Regions from separate parts of the Homo sapiens genome. Here region 2 is linked to region 1. The links are contacts of gene promoters, found by promoter capture Hi-C in human tissues and cell types (Jung and others, 2019). All regions are on one chromosome and are shown on one strand. Each heading gives the region's core, a stretch centred on a gene start or on the middle of the fragment in contact. The rest is flanking DNA. Distances are from core to core; before and after follow the strand shown. Region 1 holds the start of PDZRN3 (PDZ domain containing ring finger 3). Region 2 overlaps LOC105377164 (a long non-coding RNA gene).

What was found. The method cuts DNA at HindIII sites, captures the fragments that hold promoters and counts their contacts. A contact is called where the count stands out against the background at its distance.
Region 2: a fragment that was not itself captured here is called in contact with the fragment with the promoter of PDZRN3 in region 1 in 1 of the 25 tissues and cell types used here (IMR-90 fibroblasts).

The regions. Positions count from the first base shown.
Region 1 is chr3:73,623,375-73,630,977 of GRCh38, forward strand. PDZRN3 (PDZ domain containing ring finger 3) reads right to left here and starts at 1,567. Exons shown (of 10, transcript NM_015009.3): 1 at 729-1,567. The coding sequence starts at 1,451. It overlaps PDZRN3-AS1 (PDZRN3 antisense RNA 1), which reads left to right and starts at 194. Exons shown (of 2, transcript NR_046681.1): 1 at 194-591; 2 at 2,038-4,525. The HindIII fragment of the contact is 5,146 bases long and covers 1-3,747 here.
Region 2 is chr3:73,683,943-73,691,473 of GRCh38, forward strand. All of the region lies in intron 2 of LOC105377164 (a long non-coding RNA gene), which reads right to left. Among named protein-coding and RNA genes, the nearest start is that of PDZRN3, 63 kb to the left of the region's middle. The HindIII fragment of the contact is 4,900 bases long and covers 979-5,878 here.

The DNA.
Region 1 (7,603 bases), core at 317-2,816:
TGGGGGCAGAGTGCTCCTTTAATTCTTTCTGAAATCCCTGGATGAATACCTCAGGGGTGCCTGGCTGTGTTTTTACTCTGTATACCACGTCTCTAGGGACCATAGTTTCCAACTTTAGAGAGGTTAAGCAGCTTGCTCAAGGTCAGCCAGCTAGTTGGCTGCAAAGCCCACGCTTGCATCCAGCTTTTACCCCAGAGGCCTCTCTTCTGATATCCTTCTTAACTTAATCTACACTGGCTGTGGGTTCCCTTTATTTTTTTTTCTGGAATCCTAGAGGATGCACGGATACAATTCACCCAATGTGTCCATCTCTCCTCTCCTAAGTGTCAGTCTATAGGTTTCTGACCTCTAGAGGGTAAGCAACTTGCCCGAGATCCCCTAGCTGGTCTGAGCAGCAAAGCCTTTGAACGCAGTTTTGACTCTGGAGCTGCATTCTTCATTCTTATCCTACACTTGCTTGTGAATTCTTTTTCGTCCTTCCAGAATCCCTGAAGCTGTACAGCTATACTTTACCGGTTACGTCTAGACTATAAAGGACCACAGTGTTCCACCTCAGGCAGGTTCAGCGACCTGCAAGTAGTGATACAGCTGGTAAGCAGTGGAAGAAGAGGGAGGAAGCAAGGATGTTCCCGGGAAGCTCGGGGCATCCCTGTACCCAAAGGGATGGGGCGGGGCCCTGGGTCCCCAGGGATCCTGGCTGGAGGTCGGGGCGGGCAGCAGGCGCCTACCTTGCCGCCGGGCGGCGCGGCCACGCAGCGGCTGAGCGAGTCGAGGCGCGCGCTGTATTCGGTGAATTTCTTCTGGTAGCGCAGCGCGGTCATCTGCAGCTCAAGCTGCGCCGCGGCCAGCTGGGCCACCAGCGACTTCTCGCGCTTCCCAGCGCGCAGCGCCTCCTTCTTGAGCGCCTTGTGCAGCGCGCCCAGGCGGGCCTGGAGCGCGCCGTTGTGCGCCCGCAGCGCTCGCGCGCAGCAGTGGCCGCCCGCGCGCTGCTCGCCGTGCGTCAAGGGTAGCCCGCAGCCCTCCTGGCAGCGGCCCACTGGCCGCGCGTCGCAGGCGTCGCGCATGTGCGCCTCCACGTCGCGCCGCAGCAGCACCTGGCCGCAACCCGCGTGGCGACAGCGCGCGGGCGCGAAGTCGCAGCGCTCGAGGTGCTCCGGCAGCTGCTGCAGCTTGACCACCCGGCCGCAGCCGCGCGTCGCGTACGCGCACTTGATGTCCAGCTTGAGGATAAGGCGCTTGAGCGGCAGGACGTGGTTGAGCTCTTTGGCCGACAGGCGACCGCGGCAGCGCGCCGGGCAGCTGCCCTCCTGCACCACCCAGGGCAGCACGCAGCCGGCGCAGAAGACGTGGCCGCACGGCGTGGTCAGCGGGTCCTCCAGGACCTTGTGGCACAGCGCGCACTTCAGGTCCGGGTCCACGTCGCCGTCGAAGCGGTCCAGCTCGAAGCCCATGGTGGCGGCCAGGCCCCGGGGTCGCCGCCGGGCGGCCGGGCGCCCCCTCCCTCCCCACGAGGCGGCCCAGACAGGCCGGCTACGCCGCCCGCGCGCTCGCTGGCTCTCCCCGGACTGAGCCTAATTGATCCAGACTTCCTCGGAAAATGCCCGAGGAACAGGACTCCTCCGGCCGTATTTGCGCGAGCGCGAGCGCACATACATCGTGCCTTGGATGCCTCCCGCCAGCCCCCCGAAAAAGGGAGGAGGCTGGAAGGCAGAAGCGCGTGGGAGGACACTGAGGCTCGCCAGAAGGGACGGGCCAGCCCAGGACGCCAGCCTGAATCTTCTCGGGAAACTCCTTTCTGTTCTCTTACAGTCTACGCTATAGGAGACAAAACGCCAGCCGAGAAAAGCTCGCTGAGTTTGGAGCTGAGGCTACTGCTTTCTCCCAAGGGTTCTCTTCGAGCCCCTTCCCGAACGGATCAAAACTTTTTTACTCCCTTCTCCCTCCCCCTTCCTCTAGTGGCTGATTGCAGAGGACTAAAAATATCTTGGGGCCCGCTATCTCAGCACTTACGGTCTTTATTTATTTATTTCATTCCAGGGAAAGTTACAGAGCCTGCGGGAAGCTCCGGCTGCAACTTCAGTTCTGACCAGAGGTTCTGTGAACCTTCAGGATTTAGCAGGTTTCCAGGACCGGTGGGTGAATCTACCCGGGGAAGTTTTGGTGGACAAGAGCTGCTCGCCAGCTGTCGGAGTGGGAGAGGCCAGCGTGCTGGCTCCATCCACTTCACCTAACACCTCTGAAGTGTCTGCCCTGCAGTGTGGCAAGCGTGGTGCTGAGCGCTTCTAAATCCGTCGCTTTAAAGATCATTAGTACAATGTTGTGAGAGGGTTAGCTCCATTTGAAAATTATTTTCCCGTGATTACAAAAGAAGCGATGCTGACTGCAGAAGTTAGAACTGGGAGAAGACTCATCACCCCCATGATCATGTCAACAACTGCCCTCCTTCAGTTTTGGTTTGTTTTGTGTGTACACTCTGTCATCTTTCCATTGAGGAAACTCAGGCTAGAAGAAGGATAAAAACAAAACAGAAAACAAAACAAAACAAAAGTGCCCTGTAGGGTCCTGTAGGTCAGTGTTTCTCACATTTTAATGTGGTTGCGGTTCTGATACAGTGGGTCTGGGGCGGGTTCTGAGAATCTCCATACTGAAAGCACTTCCAAGTGATGCCAATGCTGCTAGTCCATGCTGGTCCTTGGATTCCCACTTGATTGGAAAACCCTGGCGATCCATAGATCTGGACATTCATTCCCTGCAGTACAGCAAACCTGGCTGGGTAGGATTCAGCAACAGTCCTGAGCAATGGAGGAATATTTTTGGAATTCCAAACTGGGTGTAAAGTTCATAGCATCATCCATTGATTTTATTTTATTTTATTTTTACCTCCCAAGGCTATAGACATTCCTAAGAAACACGCAGTCAGCTTTTGGTGAGAGTGGAATCAAGCTATGGAATTCTCATTTGGAATCTGCTTCCAGTTTCTGAACAGTGAAGCGGGAGAGTTCTGAACAGTAAAGCAGGAGCTCTGTATTCAGCGAGACTCTGGGGCCTGGAAAGTGGGATTACAGCATCCATTTTGTCTAATTGCTTTCCTTCTTTCTTTTATGTGGCTGCTAAAGCCCCATGACCTTCACTATTTAACTGCTTCATCAGAGTGAAAGAATTGCCTTGATGTTCATAAGGATTACTTGTTTCACACTGACCTTTAAAAAGTTGTCACTCACTAGATTTTTCAGTGCATGGTTGAGGTCACTGGACAGTGTTCTTTAATCAGTTTTGGTGGCATTTGTTGCCTATTTGAGGTGGAGACTTTCTTTTAATTGCTTTAATCAATTAATGCATTGCTTTGATAGGATTCTGCATGGGGTGGAATATTATTGGCCTTTGTTCAGATAAGCTTGTGCCAGGGAATCCTCCATCAGTATATTCATTAAACTGCTCATGGGCTCTCAGATAATGGGTAGGAAACAAATTCTTTCACCAAAGGTGTGTGGGCTTGTCAGTTTCACAGAATGAGCTAGTGTCAACAGGGTGATAATCTTCAAACCAAACTGGTTTTGAGAAACAGAGAAGTTCTGTCCTACACCATAAATGTAAATTAGTGCTTACTTGGGGTGTACACTTTTTTGGAGATGTTCTACCACCCCTCGGGTGGTCTCCCAGATGGCAGATTGAGAGGTTGTTGCTGAAATGCTACAGCTGAGGCCACAGAGAAGCCATAGCCTACTGTGGATTGGCCTCTTTAGGCAAAAGGAAAGTCTGTGCCACTCCTCAATGGTTAATTTTAGTATCAAAATTCTTGGAGGTTAGAAAAAAAATCCTACAATGTCAGAGCTGGCAAGACTATTATTTCAGTCACCAAACTTAACAGGAGAAACGAGAGCCAAAAATATTAGGAAAAAGGAGTTGAGGGCAGAGTTACTCAACCTTGGTACTACTGACATTTTCATTCAAATAATTATTTGTTGTGGTGTGTGTGGGGGTGGGGGGTTGGTTATCGTCTGCATTGCAGGATATTTAGGAGCATCTCTGGCCACTATCCAATAGACATAGTAACAACCCCTTGTTGTGACAACCAGGTTGAGAACCACAGTTTTAAGGAAGCTTTCTGCTCATTACTGAAGTCAGGCAATGCTGTCAGCCCACATTTTCTGCTGGCTGTGGAACCACCTGGTGAATGCTGCACAGTGAGAGAGGGATGTTATTATAAATCGAAAACTCAAGGCACCATACCAATAAACATGAATAAAAACTGTAGGAAGATGAATGTTTGGTGTGGCAGGCCTCCTGAGAAAAGTAGCTGATTTTTCTGACATGGATTAGATACTTACTCAACCGTCCCAGAAACATCTGAGTGTTTATATATGGATGAATTCCTTGTGGACAGCTGGATTGGTCACTTTGCAAATTATTTTTGCGACTTCCACTACCTCTTGCTCTTACCCCTTCCTTTTATCATCTGATTCTGCACTTTCTAACCAAAATGTGGCCCCAAGCCTAATAAAAATACTATTTCTATATTCACCACGATCCCATTCTGATTTTAAACTCTGTTTTTAGTGTTCTTTCCATCAGCATGTTTAATCAGAAGTTGATAATAATATCTACCACTTTTTTGGGAACTGTTACTAGGTATCAGGCACTGTGCTCAGCACTTGACCTTCATTGTCTCATTAATCCTCACTGCACATAGAGAGGTAGATATGTTGTCCACCCTGTTTTACAGATGGAGAGACTGAGGTTTATAGAGGTTACATAAGATATCTAAGTAGGCGTAGGTACCTTATAAGGTTACATAAGGTATGCCTCCAGTCAGGGATGTCAACAGGAGAATTTCAGAACCCTCACTCTTAATCACCATAAGCATTATGCGTCTCCTCCATAAGCTCCAGCTCAGGAGGCACTCCCTTACAAATGATATGGATAAGAACTCCACCCCTCCATGTTTGCTGGTTATCAATCCTCAGCTGCTCGTAGGGTCTGGATAATTTGTGGCTTCAGTACTAGAAAAAACAAACAAAAAGAAAGTCAAGGGTTTTTACATTTGTTTTTTAAATTTTCTTCCCCAGGCGTACATATTTGTATTCTACTAGCTAAAATAGCACTATACAATTAGATAAGGATCTGCTTTTACCAAATGAAAGTACCACCAGAGCGTAATAAGGTACAGCAGTCATCCACAAAAACAAGTGTGAAACATTTCGGTCAGACTGCTTGCCTGTTAACATAGCCAATGTTAGCCATCCTGGAGCCTGACACATTCGTTTGGCCATGGGTTGAAAGGTAGGGAGAAGAGAAGGTAGTTCTCTATTCTGGAGACTTTTGAAGACTTTGGTAAGTCAGGATGAGTTATCACAGTAGGGACACTAGGCAGAAGAACAAGAATTGCGAAAATACTTCTTACAAATTTGAGCAAATTCTGGTCTGCAAAAGTCTGGCTCTCCTTTCCCAACTCTCCAGATGGGATTAGTTTCCACAGCCCCAAGCACATACCCTTGTATAACAATGATCACACTTGAAATGTCTTAATTTATCTAATAATTATTTAGTAGCTATTATATGCAAAGAAGAGGCTGTTCTTGCACTGGGGCTACAAAGGCTACCAAAAATAATAAGCAGTGTCCCTCCCCTCTTAAGCCTTCATTTCACGATAAGGAACAGCAGATATCAATAAATGAATAATAAATGAGATGATTATGGAATATGATAAGTTCCCTAATACAGTGCTGCTCAAAGTGTGGTCTGGGGACCAGAAACATGGGCATAACCTGGAAGCATGTTGAAAGTGCAGAATCTCAGGCCGCACCTTGGACCTACTGAATCAGAATCTGCCTTTTAGCAAGATCACCAAGTGATTTGTGTGCACTTAAAGTTTGAGAATCACTGCTGTCAACACCATAAAAGCAGCTTACATGCTGGAGAAAAATCAAAGGGGCCCATTTGAAATAGGGCTGTCTGGGGAGGGGAAGTGTGAGTTGTCGCTTGAAGGGTGAGACTGAGCCAGCAATAGCTGGGAGAAGAACAATCCAGGCAGAACAAGAGAAAGTGCTGAGGTTCGAAGCAAGCACATGGTCTATTTGAATTAGACAGAGTGTGCCTAGAACTTGGAGCAGAGTAAGCCGAGCGAAGAAGAATCAAACAAGGGTAAAAAGTAGGCGAGAACCAAATGGACACGGGCCTGCAGGACCTGTGGAGGAAAGAGATTGAATTGATTCTAGTGCTGATTGGCACTGAAGTATTTTGGGCAGCAGAGGAGCACAGCTTGATCAATGTCTAGTGTCCATGCCACATATTACACTCTATTATAGAGTAGGGCAATCGTGTTCACGTTCTGTCCCCCATGTTTAACACTTAGTAGAAACGTAATAAATATTGAACAAATAACTGTTCCCTCTTCCTGCTCCATGTAAGTTCCTGCTGCTCAGCTCTTAAGCGTGGGTTGGTACTACCAGCATGAGGTATATGTATCACAGTATGAGTTAAATAGGCCTCTGTGTCCTAGTTGGAGTACCTATCAACATTTAGAACATTGTTCCCATAACAAAATCAATTCAGAATTATGAACAGCCAACTCCCACATGAATAAGTAGATCACTATCTGGTTGCGAATTGGTAGGCTTTGTATAGACTATGCATGTGTATATATACATATAAATGTTCACATACATACCTATGTATTTATAAACATACATGTACGTGCATACATACATGCATGTGGAACAAAAAAATTGTTTAGCTGAGCATAACAGAACATCCAAATAACCATGGAATAAACTAGTTAGAAATTAATCTCTCTCTCAAGTGAAAAAATATGAGCCATTGTTAGCAGGCTGAGGCTGGTATAGTGGCTTCCAGGTCACCAGGGACTCAGGATTCTTTTCTCTTTCTGCTCCACCATCTGTAGGGCCTGGCGTCTATGCTCATTTCATGGAGCGAGATAGCTGCTGCACAGCCAACCATTCCAGGCAGAAAAATGGAGGAAGAAGGGGCAGGCCAACCTGATTAACCTAGGGGAAGTAGCTTAACTTAATCAGGTTGGCCTGCCCCTTCCTTCAGGAGCTTTTCTGGAAGCTCCACCCAACTACCTTCTCTTGCATCTCAGCAGCAACAGAATTTATGAAATGTACTCTTTTACAAAGGCACATTGCTTCCTGGAATATTAATAGGTTCTACCCTAAGATATCACTTTTTGCATCCACTATGACGACCTAAGACAAAAAGAGAGACAGTAACAAGTGTTGACAAGGATGCAGAGAAATTGGAATCCCCACATGTTGCTGTTGGGATTGTAAAATGGGGCAGCCACTTTGGAAAATAGTTTGGCAGTTCCTCAGAATGTTAAATATTGAGTGACCATATGACCTAGGAGTCCCTCTCATGGAGAGAACTGAAAACACATGTTCACCCCAAAACTCATACACAAATGTTCATAGCAGCATTATTCATAATAACCAAAAAGTTGAACCAATCCAAATATCCACCAACTGATGAATGTATAAACAAAAGGTTGTATATCCATGCAATAGAATACCATTCACCATAAAAAGAAATGAAGTACTGATTCATACTACAACATGGATTTATATTGAATACATTATTCTAAGTG
Region 2 (7,531 bases), core at 2,179-4,678, 62 kb after region 1:
CACCACCACTGAGGGTGGGTCTTCCTCTCCCAATCCACTGACTCAAATGTTAATCTCCTCTGGCAACATCCTCACAGACACACCCAGAAACAATACTTTACCAGCCATCCTTCGATCCAATCAACTTGACACCTAATATTAACCATCACACTGGGTGTGTGATGGAAAGCAAATCAAGGGTTAGAGGAAAGAAATAATCTGATTTGCATTTCTAAAAGATCACTTTGCCTCCTGGGTGGAGGATTTTTTTCCAAGAGACAAGAGAGGAAGCCTGAGGATACTTAAGAGGCTAAGGCAGCTGTCAGTAAGAAATGATGGTGCTTTGGATGAGATTAGCAGTAATGAAGGATATGAGGGATGGTCTGATTTGGGATCAACTTTGAAGGGATCAACTGTGGAAGAATGTGCTGTTGGGTTGGATGTGAATGTCAGGGAAAGGGAAGAGCCAAAGATGCACGACTTCCAAGATTTTTGGCCTGAACAAATAGGTCAATAATGGTATTCTTTACTAAGGTGGGGGAGACTGGCAGCAACTGAGTGCAGATAATAACATCAAAAATTCTATTTGAGATGCCTATTAAGCAGGCACCTGGATATAGAAGTTTGAAGTTTAAAGGAGTCTTTCGACCTCGGTGTATTGAACTTGGGAGTCATTAGCATAGAGGTGGTATTCCAGATTTCATAATATACCTTAATATTGATCAACTCAAGCATTAAGTTTCACATGAGTCCCTTCCTCATATAGTCAATCATTGAATATTAAACTTTGCTGTGATTTTCTTTTTTTTTTCTTTTTTGAGACGGAGTTTCACTCTTGTTGCCCAGGCTGGAGTGCAATGGCGCAATCTCGGCTCACTGCAATCTCCACCTCCCGAGTTCAAGCTATTCTCTTGTCTCAGCCGCTGGAGTAGCTGGGATTACAGGCGCCCGCCACCACGCCTGGCTAATTTTGTATTTTTAGTTAGAGATGGGGTTTCTCCATGCTGGTCAGGCTGGTCTCGAACTCCCGACTTCAGGTGTCCTGCAAAATCATCTGGAGGAGTTTATTAAAAATATAATTGCCCAAAGCTGTATTTATCAGAAAAGTCAAGCTGCTTTTCATGGCTTTTATCTGTTAGTTTTTGTTTTGCATAATAAAGGTACACATAGGCGTACTTTTCCACGCCCTTCCTTGGGAGCCCTTCCAACATTTGAGCACTCATAATAATCATGGCTGTCAACCTCTGAACACACTTCATACTCCAGCCCTTAATCCCCAAAACAATAGGAGGATTCAGGGGTGCAGACAGCTGCAAGGGATCTAGTTACCAACACCAGGAAGCAGAAAGCAATGATGATGGTGTGGTCTTTACGTTGCTAATTGGAGAGTGTGCTGTCTGTATCTAAGGTGTTTCAGGAAGTCTGCTGAACCCAATGAATGTGTTCCCCTTTTATGAGAAATGTGCACTCTAGTGCTAAGTGCTTGGAAGTACTGCGGAGGACACTGCAGGAAAGGGTGGAGGTAGACATGAAGAACAATTTCAATCTTTCAGTTGTAATTGTGACTTAGGCTTAAAGCTGTGGCTTGGGAAGGCTCAGGACTCTGTTGCTTATAAAGGGCAAAACCCATACAAAACTGGCTTAAGCAAAAAGGGGAATTTACTGGATCATGTAGCAGAAAAGTTAAGCAATTAATTTCAAACAAGAATGGATCCAAGTGCTAAAATAAAGTTGTCATGAATATGTCTCTATTTTTTGAGACATGGATTGAGAAGCGGGCGAGGGTTATTCTGCAAATGCAAATTAAGTTTCTGTTACCAGAAATAAGGGGAAGGGATGATGGAGAGGCAAAAACAACAAATGTCCACTGTAGCAGGATAAGAAAGAAAGGAAAATGGGGACTTGATTTACACATGATTTGAAAGGTGAGATTTGTGTTTTTCAATGATATTTTAAAAACAAACAAATAAACAAAACAGGGCAATGGGCTCTCAGCAGAAAGGGTAAATGTGACCATGACTCGGACTTAGAAAGTTCTCTTTGTGACTTGGGGAGGAGAGGTCAGTATGGCAAAGGGTATGGCCTGACCTCTAGGGCTTTCTGGTCCTGTTTTATCATGCACAGCAGATTAAAAAGTTGGAAGAGGACTTGGGTTTCAGCATATATCTGATAAATGTTTAAGCCTCTAATCCTGTCATTTTTGCAAAGATGGTATTGACAGCTTGGTGCAGTAGAAAGGGAATGCGTCTCATAGCTCAATACGGTTTCAAGCCACAGTTCAGACTCTTAGTCATGTGACTTAGGAAATCTACTTTACCTGTCTAAGCCTCAGGCTTCTCATCTGCAAAATGGAGGAGCTAATGGAGTCTACTTCTGAGGGCTATGATAAGAGAAAACAAAAACCTTCATGAACTGTGCCTAGCACAGTACCTGGCATGTAGTAATCACTCAATAAAGGTAATGAAGCTACCTCTTCCTTCTCATCCTTATGATTACTGCTCTTCTTTTGGCTAAACTGAATTCATAGTGCATGATACAGTGCACACAAGCCTGACTCAAGGCATTTTATTATCTGCTTAGGCTCAAAATAATTATGTTTGTCGAGACATAACCATTTATAAACCCAAAGTCAATGGCTTAGCTTTGGGTGCCCAAAGACTTGGCTGTTTTACTTTGAACCAGGTAGTTGCATTAGTTAACCTGAGCCTCACTTGCCCCATCTAATAATCTTCATAAGGTTGTGAGGCTAGCATGAATAATTCATGTATTGGGTTTAACATAGTACCTGGACCTTATACAATTTCAATACAAAATAATAACAGTAATCATATTTATTATTATTATTCTCTAGCAATTTCTGCAAGGCCAACCTTGGGTCTTGTGTAAAGAAGGGTTCTGATGGAAAGGCAGAGTTGTCTCTTGAGGACAAAGCAGTTGTCACATGATAAGCCTTCTCCACCGTATGGGTCACCTTTCTCATCTTTGTTAGTTGGTTGGAATCTGACATCAGAATCCAGTTGCCTGTTGGGTTCCTTTTGAGGTGGGGACGTTGACTCCATTCCACCAATGATTTATTTGAAAATGCCTGGAAGTGGAGGGACACAAAATGTTCTGAAAAGTCAACGTGTGCATCTTGTCCCAGAGTGATTCCGTGACTGTTCGCTTGGTGTTTACATGGCTTAAACTGTCTAATTTATAGACTCTGAAAGCACCGGTGAAAGAAACAAACTAGCTTTTGGATCACTTAATATAGTTTATAGTGCAACTGTAAATTTGGAACCATTTATGGAACATTACGACTTGCAAACATCTCCCCCAGTTTTATTACTCAGGGAAAAAAAATGTGTGGTGCTTACAAATCCTCTAAAAACTGTAAAAGCATTAAAAAAAAAAAAATCCAAACAGCATTCATGGACTACATAGTGCAGGATGCAAGCTTTTATCTTGAGCAGTATATTGAAAGCCTAATTTTCTACTAAAATGTCAGCTTGTTTCAAAACACAGGAGATGACTGGCTTGGAATCCTTGCTGAAAAGAACTCGTCTTTGCTCTTTCTTCTTCCAAAAAAAGAAAAAAAAAAAAAAAAAAAAGAAATGCACTATGCTTAAGGAGGAATTTAGCAATTAGATGATTGCTATAAAATAGCAGTTGACATCTGCCCTATATATATTTTTTCTTAGCATCAAAGATGTTTAATTTGAATAAAAGCTTTCTCCTCCACAATCTGACATTTTCCCTGAGTTTTATCTTACTCTAGAGTCATTATCTTACAATTAGGTCTGAACTTAGGGGTAAAACAACAACAACAAAAACCAGGAACTCCAACACAGGGATCTTACTTGGGCTGCAGTTTTCTGATGTTATCTGAGTTGAGCTGCTTTTTATCATCCTGGCGTTTAAAGGGAAAAGTCTCTGTTCTGCCTCCTGTCCAACTACCCCCAGCCCAGACCTTATTCTTTTCACTTGAACCTGTGGAGTACGCCCAGACCTCTGGATGTCAGAACAAGATACTGCTATCATACAAATGAATGTGGAGGTCATGCATTTATCTTTGTCTCTGTCTCCCCTGCAGCATCCAGAGAAAGGCAAATTATGGATGAGGTGATTTAATCCAAGCAAAGTTTGAATGGAGATAAATGGGGTAGGGGGCAAATAGGAACAGAGCGAGGCTAGGGAGAGTCTTTGGGGAGAAGATTCTGTTCTTTTGAGTCCTATAACTGGCACCATGGAAGGGACCCTAGAGACAATCTAATGAGGCTCCATCATGGTGCAGAAGCAGTGCAGCATGGGATATTTGAAAGGGCAAATTCCTTCCATATTGTTCTTACACTAGAAGTTAAGGGCGCAGGGGGCATAGGTTAGGTGTGTGGGGTCTGGGGTCAGACCGTTTGCTTTGAGTCTTGTTTGTGTTGCTTTTTGGTTGTGTGTGGGCAAGAAATGTAACTTCTTTCAGCCGGAGTGCACCAGCTGCCAAATGGGGAAGAACAGTAGTTCCCACCTCATGTAGTATTGAGTGCATGACTTGGAGTAATGGGTGGGAGAGCACTTCCTGCCTTCCTTCCCTCATTCATCCCCTTACTTAACAAATAATTATTGAATATTTATGATGTGTCTAACCTCTTCTGGGCACCGGGGTTATAGTGATAAACAAGATAGTTGGGGTTCCTGATCTCATGACTTTTGTTAAAATTTTAACTACCATTATTATAATAAATGAAGAAGACTGAAATTCCAAGAAGCTGAGTCATGCAGCTATGCAGCTATATTAATAAAAGGGCTCAAATAGAGCGGGGTCTTGAGTCTCCAGTCCCATGCTTACTCCTCCACCCCCCACCAACACGATGTTGTGCTCTACTTTATTACCCTCAATTTTCTTGGTAAAGAAAGGTGTTTTTTTTTTTTAAAACAAAAACAAAAACAAAACTTTATTTTTAAAGCAGTTTTAGATTTATAAAAAATTTTTGAAGCTAGCACAGATAAATTCCATATACCTCACACTTGGTTTCCCCATTATTAAAATCTTATGTTAGTATTGGTACATTTGATTCAATTAATGAACCAATATTAATGCATTATTATTTTACTAAAGTTTATACTTTACATACTTTATTCAGATTTCCTTAGTTTTTTTTTTTTTCCTCCAGTGTTCTTTTTCTGATCCAGGATCCTATCCAGCATGCGACATTGAACATCGTTTTCTATGCTCATTTGCCATGTGTGTCCTATTTGCCCTTACACCTTCTTTTGTGTGATGTCTGTTCAGACTCTTTGAGCTTTCTAAAATGGGTTTCTTGGTTCCTTACTGTTGAGTTTTAAAGTTTTTTATATATTTCAGATACAAGTCCTTTTATTTTAAATACAAGTCCTTTTAAATGTGTTTTGCAAATATTTTCTCCCAGTCTCTTACTTGTCTTTTAATTTTTCTTAATAATGTTCCTCACAGAGCAGAAATGTTTAATTTTTATAAAATCTAACATCAAATTTCATTCATGGATTATGCTTTTGGTGTTAGGCTCAAAAACTCATTGCCAAATCATGGTTACTAGATTTTTCCCTACATTTTTATCTAGAAACTATATATTTTTGCATTTTACATTTAGTCTAAAATCCAGTTTTTTATGAAAGGCATAACATCTCCCTCTAGATTCATTTTTTTTTTTCAATGTAGATGTTCAGATGTTACAGGACTATTTGTTGACAAAACTAACTTTTGTCCATTGAAATGCCCCTACTCCTGGCCAGACTGGGTGGCTCTCACCTGTAATCCCAGCACTTTGGGAGGCTGAGGTGGGCAGATTACTTGAAATCAGGTGTTTGAGACCAGAACATGGTGAAACCCTGTCTCTACTAAAAATAGAAAAATTAGCTGGGCATGGTGGCACACACCTGTAATTCCAGCTACTTGGGAGGCTGAAGCAGGGGAATTGGTTGAGTCGGTGAGGTGGAAGTTGTAGTGAGCTGAGATCAGGCCACTGAACTCCAGCCTCTGTCTCAAAAAAAAAAAAAAAAAAAAAAAAGCTGCTGCTTCTTTGTCAAGGGTCTGTTGCCTACATTTGCATGAGTCTATTTCTGGGCTCTCTATTCTGTTCCATTGATCTATGTGTCTATAGTTTCCTCAATACCACGCTGTTTATAAATCTTAAAATTTGGTAGTATGAGTCTTACAACTTTTTCTTTTTTTTCTTTGTGTTTTTTTTTTTTTCATTTTGTTTTTGTTCTTACTCCTTACTATTGTATTGGATAATCTAGGCCTTTTGCCTTAGTGTGTATGTGTGTGTGTGTATTACATGCATTCTAATATATACATATTAGAATGTGCATTTTATGTATGTATGAATCAGTTTGTCAATATCACCAAAATAGCTTGCTGGGCTCTTGGTTGGGGTTTTGTTGAATTCTGAATTCTAGATCAAATTGGGATAAATAGAATTTTCCAATCCATGAATACAGAATATTTCTCTATTTATTTACATGTTCTATTATTTTTTATATCAGAGTTTTGTTCTTTTTCACATATAGATCTTTTACATTTTAAAATATTTATATCTATGCTTTTTTTTGATACTACCGTAAATGGCAATCAAAAAAATCAAATTTCAATGGTTCATTGCTGGTATATAGAAAAACAGTCGACTGGCCGGGCATGGTGGCTCACACCTATAATCCCAGCACTTTGGGAGGCTGAGGCAGGCCGATCACGTGGTCAGGAGATCGAGACCATGCTGGGTAACATGGTGAAACCCCGTCTCTACTAAAAAAATACAAAAAATTAGCTGGGCGTGGTGGCAGGTGACTGTAGTCCCAGCTACTTGGGAGGCTGAGGCAGGAGAATGGCATGAACCCAGGAGGCAGAGCTTGCAGTGAGCTGAGATCACGCCACTGCACTCCAGCCTCAGCCACAGAGCAAGACTCCGTCTCAAAAAAAAAAAAAAAAAAAAAAGAATCGAACTTTGTATACTAACTTTTTATCCTGCAACCTTGCTATACTCATTTATTTGTTACAGAAGGGTTTAAAAAATTATTTGGTATTTTCTACATAGACAATCACATTGTCTACAGACAATTTGGTTTCTTTCTTCCCCAACTGTATGCCTTTTATTTTAGCTTTTTATTCTGTTACACTAGGTACTTCAAGTATGGTGTAAATATGAGCAGGGAGAAAGCACCCGTTTTTCCCCACTAAGGGTGATGTCAGCTGGTAGTTTGTTTGTTTTGTAGATGTTCTTTATCTAATTGAGGAAGTACCCCCAGTTCTATTTTGCTGAAGATTTTTATCAGCAATTGATATAATCATATAATTTTTCTTCTTTCATCCATAGATGTGGTGGATTACACTGATTGAATTTAGAATGTTGAACCACCCTTGCATACCTTGAATAAATCCTACTTCACCGTGTGTAATTTATACATGGTTGAATTTTATTAGCTAATTTTTTGGTGAATATTTTTTGCTAATATTTTGTTGAAGACCCTGGAGGATACTGGTCTGTATTTTACTTTGTTGTAATGCCTTTATCTTTTTTTTTGGCATTAAAGTAATATTGGCCTCATA